Regions from separate parts of the Homo sapiens genome. Here region 1 is linked to region 2. The links are contacts of gene promoters, found by promoter capture Hi-C in human tissues and cell types (Jung and others, 2019). All regions are on one chromosome and are shown on one strand. The core of a region is centred on a gene start or on the middle of the fragment in contact, and the rest is flanking DNA. Distances in the headings are between cores, read along the strand shown. Region 1 overlaps KRT86 (keratin 86). Region 2 holds the start of KRT5 (keratin 5).

Evidence for each region. The method cuts DNA at HindIII sites, captures the fragments that hold promoters and counts their contacts. A contact is called where the count stands out against the background at its distance.
Region 1: a contact is called between a fragment that was not itself captured here and the fragment with the promoter of KRT5 in region 2, in 1 of the 25 tissues and cell types used here (adrenal gland).

The regions. Positions count from the first base shown.
Region 1 is chr12:52,279,022-52,282,516 of GRCh38, reverse strand. The region is part of intron 2 of KRT86 (keratin 86); the gene reads right to left. KRT86-AS2 (KRT86 antisense RNA 2) reads left to right here and starts at 3,361. Exons shown (of 2, transcript NR_199073.1): 1 at 3,361-3,495. RefSeq lists an enhancer at 1,241-2,440. The HindIII fragment of the contact is 5,713 bases long and covers 1-3,495 here.
Region 2 is chr12:52,519,144-52,523,018 of GRCh38, reverse strand. KRT5 (keratin 5) reads left to right here and starts at 2,625. Exons shown (of 9, transcript NM_000424.4): 1 at 2,625-3,277; 2 at 3,859-3,875. The coding sequence starts at 2,723. RefSeq lists enhancers at 1-718, 3,538-3,875. The HindIII fragment of the contact is 8,601 bases long and covers 1-3,875 here.

The DNA.
Region 1 (3,495 bases), core at 779-3,278, 240 kb after region 2:
CGCCTGTAATCCCAGCACTTTGGGAGGCTGAGGCGGGCGGATCACGAGGTCAGAAGATCGAGACCATCCTGGCTAACACAGAGAAACATCGTCTCTACTAAAAATACAAAAACAAAATTAGCCCATCACGGTGGCAGGCGCCTGTAGTCCCAGCTATCTGGGAGGCTGAGGCGGAAGAATGGTGTGAACCCGGGAGGCGGAGCTTGCAGTGAGCCAAGATTGCGCCACTGCAGTCCAGCCTGGGCGACAGAGCAAGGCTTTGTCTCAAAAAAAAAAAAAATTGTTTCAGGGGGCTCAAAAACCTTCTAAAGAATTCCAGTAAGTGAAATAATAGTTACACTTACATAACTTCCTATGCTTTAAGCACTTTACATGCAGCAATACCTTTTCTCAAACAACCCTCTGATAGTTACTCTATTTTGCAGCTAACCTTTGGCTCAGAGGGACTAAGTAGGGAAGAAAACAAGGAAAAAGAAAGCCAAGCACAGTGGCTCACATCTGTAATCCCAGCACTTTGGGAGGCTGAGGCAGGAGGATTGCTTGAGGCCAAGAGTTTGAGACCAGCCTGGGCAGTATGGTGAGACCCCATCTCTACAAAACTTTTTTTTTAATTAGCAGAGCGTGGAGGCATGTGCCTGTAGTCCCAGCTACTGAGGAGGTTGAGGCAGGAGGATCGCTTCAGCCCAGGAGGTTGAGGCTGCAGTGAGCTATAATCCTGCCACTGCACTCTAGCCTGGGTGATAGAGCAAGACTTCATCACTACAAAAATAAATTTAAAATTAAATAAGAAGGAAAAAAAGAATCTTCACAATTTAGATCTAGAGGAGGGCAGGACTGAGGCCCAGAAACAGGTGAAGAGTTTGGACAAGGTAAGAATAAGACTGGGAACAGGATCAAGGCCCTTCCTTCCTTACTCCAGGCTGGTCTGGTTGATCTCTTACAGCTGAAATCACAGCAGGAAGGACTGCATTTAGACTCCACAAGAGACTTCCAAGGGGTTATGCAGAATGCCACATGCCAATGGTCAAAAACAGGGCCCAATACATCTCAGGACAGGACACACCAACCAGGACCATGCAGCCTCAACCCCATCACATCTACTCTGTGGCAGACCCTGAGGATGGATGAGACCTTCACTGCCCTCCTGGGGCTCAGATAGAGACATGACCACAGCCAAGTTAGCATCTGACATGTTTAAATACAACGGAGTGTGAGGCAGGCATGCAGAGCCAACAGAGGACTCACACCTTATAGTGCCCTTCTGCTGAGAAGCAATGACTGAACTGAGGACAGCCCTCCTCCCTTCAGAAGCCACCCGACTCACAAAGCTTATAAATGGGCTGGGGAATGACTCTCCATAAATGCACTGGGCAGTTTCCTCCCACCCCAGTCTGGAATGTGGCCCATGGCCAGGGGAGCCTCTCAGGGAATTAGTCTCCAAACCACAAACATTGCTTGTGATCCACAGGGCCCTGGCCCAGGAAGAAACTCAAACCTGACCCCAAAGCCCTGGGGATCTTCTGGATTGACATCAGGCAAGTCCAGGTTCGGTATTTGAAAAGGGAAAATGTGAGCAACAGTCCTGAGTGACGCAGGTTGCAGAATGTACATCCTAGATCCTGCCTACAATTCCCACAAAGTTCCCTTGTTGACATGATCATCATAGCAGGAGCTGGAGAAAATTGGGCTTGAATAGCAGAGAATCTCATGATCCCCTAGCAAAATGCAAGGAGCACAGAGCTGGACTAAAGAATCTTGAAAGAATCTTCAGGCAGCTTGTTTGCATTTGCGAGTGTTGGCAGGTCAGTATTTATCAACCAGGGCTGATGTGTGAGCCCAGTGGGGTCATGCCCCCTACCCCTCAGGAGGGTGGCATCCGGCTAGCCAAGTTTCAGTCCCATTCCTCTTGCATGAGACTTTTCTGTTTACACAAGAAGAGGGCCTTTTGGATACCTGTCCTCTGGGCAGGCACCCAGAAGAACACAGCAGACACTCTGGCACTAGAGTGCCTTAAAAAGTAAAGCCCAAGCCTCTGGCCAATGACGCACTTCAGCCCCACCCAGGGACATAGAAAGCAGAAACTATTGTTGCATTGATGATGTAATTTCATGCAATAGAAAGGAATGTGGGCTCACTGTACAGAAGCTTCTCTTGGGTCTGTGTGGCAGGGAAAGAACCCAGAAATCCAGCCTTTATCTAGCCACCCCACTCTATCTTCCGACCACCAAAATCCAATGCCTTGTAAAAACTCGGACCAACTTACACCCTGGATCTGAAGTAGAGACAGAGCTGGAGCCTCCGTCTGATTTCACAGCCCACAATTTCCTCCACCATAGTGTGTTGTTCCTCTGCCCGCCACCAGATCATATTAACACAACTCGGTGGCCCAATTGTGTGTTAAACCAGAACCCAAGCTTGGGCCACCCAATTGTGTTCATCTCTCTCCAGCCCCCATCTGCAAGGGCCACCTGTCTTCAAATGCCCCATCAGGGTGATAGAAGGCACTGGCCCAATCCCCATCTCACCCTTTTCTGTTTCTGCTCGGTTTCCTCGTCTATGGCCCACCTCCCTACCCAGAACCTCATCTCCAGGAATCCTAGAGTGTCTTCCTCACCATCCTGTCCCCTGAACCAAGCACTATGAGGCCATTCAGTAAGTATGTGTAGAGTGAATGGATGGATGGAGAATGGAATTCTCAGCTCTGCTGCCCAGAAGCTATGGGCCCCAGGCTAGACTCTTCTGCATGAATGAACCCTTTCTCTCGCTTTCCCCATGGACTCCGGGCTCCCCATCCTAAAGACTCTGGTTCTATAATATCGAATCATCATATACTTAAGTCACATAGACCCTCACAGCAGGAGGGGAGGAGGTTGCTTCCTGGTACTGTTCTCGCCCTGACCCCTCCACCGCAGCCAGGTTTGTCTGTGCTCTGGGAATGGCCTGGAGAATCCGGGTTTAAACTCCTGGCAGCTCAGACCACTCCACAACTTTTTATTGCAGAGAAGTCCCTGGAAAGAAGGGGTGGGAACAGTTCAGAGGGGCAGGGTTCTTGGTCCAGGTAAGCTGGCCACCTCTACCCAATGGCACCAGCGTCCAGGCCATCTGCACTGGGGATGGTCAGTCATAGTCCTGTAAGCTGTGCTCCAACGCCTCACGTCCCGGTGTGGGAGGCAAAAAGGAAAGATGATGTGGGGTCAGCTCTATGGGAGGGGGCATCTGACACAAGAGGGCTAAGTCTTTAGGGCAGAAGCTGAGGGTTCCTTGTCTTCTCCGGAGGGAGGCGGGAAGGGTTCAACATCTGCGGGAGCTGTGTAGCTAAAGCCCACGGACACAGCCGGGAGAGCCGCAGAGCGCGTAGCCGCCGCCAGGGGCGCTCGTCTCCAGGGCGCCGGAGCCTGCTCGGGGCTGGAGCAGGCAGGCGGAGCCCGGCTGAACGGAGGACGACTGTCCGAGGGAGGAAAGCCCTTCCTCCCCCCACCCCAAGCCCCAGAAGAC
Region 2 (3,875 bases), core at 1,376-3,875:
CCTTTCTCTGATGGGGAGAGCAGCAGGGCGGGCCCTGCACTGTCTTCTGCTGACAAGGAAAGCAGCACCCAGAGGAGAAGCTGAGCAACATGTCCCACCAAGCCTGGGAACTGCCTCTGTGGGGTGCCCAGCAGGAAAGCTCCCTGGTGAGCCTAACACAATCCCTCCCTTCCTGCCACAGTGAAATTCCAGGCTGGGGTGGGACTCTCCCGAGCTGCAGTGGTGCTGGTGCCTGGCTCCCCACCAGGAGCGGCTCCATTATTTATACCTGTCCAGGTCTGGCATTGAGGGAGGGGCTGCCCTGCCTGCTCATGGGAGGATTCCCACGAAGCTCGGATAGAAGAGTGCTGCTGCTTCTCCCATGGAGCACCCACATGCTCCCTGCTCCCATGGAGCACCACACACTCACCGTTGGTCCCTGGCACATGGATCTGAGCTTGGCACACTCTAGCAATCCTCAGACTAGCCAGAACGCATTCCTGCTCTGCCAAGTCCTCTTTCTTCACAACACAGCTGGGAGGAGAATGAATGGGGAGAAGAGAATGTCCCAGTGTCTCAGGAGGGGTGGGGCTTCCCTGAGGGCAGTGAGGTCTGTACCCGGGACCTGTGAGTGTATGTGGTGGTGGGGATATACCCCGATATCGATCTTTGAGTGGAGCAGGAGCATCCCACTACGAGTCCTCAGACACTTGCTTCAGGCTTGGATCTGTTCTGTTCTATCAGGAGCCGAGGGTCCCCTGGTATGTCTCAGGCCTCCAGGACACTCACATCTGTTCTCCAGAAAGCAACCAAATGTGAAAATGGTGAGCTCAGCACAATTCATCTCTGAGGGTCTCAGAAATGCTCCAGCCAGGGAGGCCACCCAAACCATTTTGCTCAAGACCTGTAAGACCGGCTCCGGCCATTGGTCTGTCTGCCGAGATTGACCTGTCAGCTGCTTGCTCATCGCAGCCCTCTGGTGAGAAGTCACTGTTTCAGCTGATCCTCAGCACCAGGGAGTCATTTTCCCACTGCCTTGGCTTCCTTGTGGCCAACCGCAGGCCCTGGTGAGAGATTCCTGAGCCTGGGTCTGGTCCTGTTCTTCTACTCTTGAGAATATAGCCCCTCCTCCCTGAGGCTTTGAAGCCATCCCCATTGCATTCCTACCTCCAGCCTCGGGCCACAGGGCGCCCCCGAAACTCTGAACAGCCCAAGCACTGTCCTGCCTGAGAGCCCTGCTTCTATTTGGGGGACGGCAGAGAGGTGGCCCCACTCAGATCTGCTGCCAAAAAGAGTGGGTGTGGTTTAGAACAGACGTGTGTTAAAACCTCATCAGAAACCCCCTTTCCTCCACCTGGTGCCACAACCCCCCAGACAAGTTTTGCAGAGGGGATCTCAAAGGGCCCTCCCTAAAGCAGCTGGCAGATTGTCATGCCAGCTGCCTGGGCCCACAGGCCTGCTCTGGCTAGCCTTTCTGGCAGGACAATCCATAGACTTAGAATCCCGTTTTCCATTGCCTTGGCCCTGAAGGAGGCTGTGGGCTACAGCATAGAGAAAGCAGAGCAAGTCCCGCTGCTTGGAACAGGGTGGTTCGCCGTTATAACAGGCCGTCAGACTCTCAACATGTTCCTGATGAGATTAGAAGCTCCTGCAGGTATGTGTTTGTGGCGGCCTTCAGCCTGTATCAACACATACGATGACTCATTTCTTCCCTAGTGGAATAGAGCTTGCTGGAACACACCTGGGGGGCTGGGGAACCGGCAGAGTAGCTACCCCCAAAGAGAGACGCTATAGCCCATGAGTCTCAGGGTTTTTTTTTAAGGGATTGCATGGGATCCCCGGGTTTCCTAAACCCCCCACAGAGTCCTGCCCAGGCCAAAGAGCAAGGAAAAGGTCAAAGGGCAGAAAAAATGCTGAGTTAGGAGGAGCTATGGAAGGATAAACCTGGCCTTAAAGAGGTCAAAGTGGTTTATAGGGGGCGCTGAGGGCTTCCCACATTCTCTGGCCTAAACCTTGCAGGCAGATCTGCCCAGTGGGCTCTGGGATAGCTGTGCCTTCCCTAAGAAAAAAATTGTGCAGAAAAGGATGAAACTCTATTTTCCCTCTAGCACATAACCAAGAATATAAGGCTACAGATTGCCTTTCCCAGAGGGGAAAACCCTGCAGCAACCTGCTGCCTGGAAAAGTGTAAGAGCAGATCACTGGGGAATCGTTTGCCCCCCGCTGATGGACAGCTTCCCCAAGCTGGAAGGGCAGGTGCTCAGCATGTACCGTACTGGGATGGTTGTCAATACTCCTGGTCCTGTAAGAGTCCCCAGGACACTGGCCATGCCAATGCCCCCTCAGTTCCTGGCATCCTTTTTGGGCTGCTCACAGCCCCCAGCCTCTATGGTGAAGACATACTTGCTAGCAGCGTCACCAACTTGCTGCCAAGAGATCAGTGCTGCAAGGCAAGGTTATTTCTAACTGAGCAGAGCCTGCCAGGAAGAAAGCGTTTGCACCCCACACCACTGTGCAGGTGTGACCGGTGAGCTCACAGCTGCCCCCCAGGCATGCCCAGCCCACTTAATCATTCACAGCTCGACAGCTCTCTCGCCCAGCCCAGTTCTGGAAGGGATAAAAAGGGGGCATCACCGTTCCTGGGTAACAGAGCCACCTTCTGCGTCCTGCTGAGCTCTGTTCTCTCCAGCACCTCCCAACCCACTAGTGCCTGGTTCTCTTGCTCCACCAGGAACAAGCCACCATGTCTCGCCAGTCAAGTGTGTCCTTCCGGAGCGGGGGCAGTCGTAGCTTCAGCACCGCCTCTGCCATCACCCCGTCTGTCTCCCGCACCAGCTTCACCTCCGTGTCCCGGTCCGGGGGTGGCGGTGGTGGTGGCTTCGGCAGGGTCAGCCTTGCGGGTGCTTGTGGAGTGGGTGGCTATGGCAGCCGGAGCCTCTACAACCTGGGGGGCTCCAAGAGGATATCCATCAGCACTAGTGGTGGCAGCTTCAGGAACCGGTTTGGTGCTGGTGCTGGAGGCGGCTATGGCTTTGGAGGTGGTGCCGGTAGTGGATTTGGTTTCGGCGGTGGAGCTGGTGGTGGCTTTGGGCTCGGTGGCGGAGCTGGCTTTGGAGGTGGCTTCGGTGGCCCTGGCTTTCCTGTCTGCCCTCCTGGAGGTATCCAAGAGGTCACTGTCAACCAGAGTCTCCTGACTCCCCTCAACCTGCAAATCGACCCCAGCATCCAGAGGGTGAGGACCGAGGAGCGCGAGCAGATCAAGACCCTCAACAATAAGTTTGCCTCCTTCATCGACAAGGTGAGCTACGATCTTTTGTAAAAAATCACTGTGGGTCTGAAATAAATGCCAAAGAGAGAGAAAGAAGGAAGATGTTTTGGCTTTGTGCAAATACTTTTATAGTTGTACAGTTCTGTGTTTCCGTTTGTTTCTGTGCCCTGGATTTGTGGACACGTTCTGAATTAGACTGGCAGCTGGGAAGGGAGAATTATTTCTTCCCATTCAGAGGTTAGCTCACAAGGGCCTCTTAACAACTGTTGGACAGAGAGATGAATTTCATGCCATATATAAAGGGGCTGACTGTACAGGAAGGTAGACAAGTGCATGGGCAGCAGCCTGAGTGCCTTTGCAGCCACCCCTGAGCCGGGACACACTCCAAGCAGCACTCCTAGTGCTTTCTGTGCCCTGGATAGGTGTCCTATCTCCCCCTGGAAAAGTGAGTTTGGGTGCCTCAGTCTGCACCTCCCCTCCTGGGGCCCAGGGCCAGGCACAGTGCACAGAAAAGCTTTAGAGGGACGGAAAGAGGTGGGAGGCACCTTAGTGAGTTGATCATAGAACATGAAATCCAAGTTTCTCTATCTTCAAACCCTGCTCCCCTCCAGGTGCGGTTCCTGGAGCA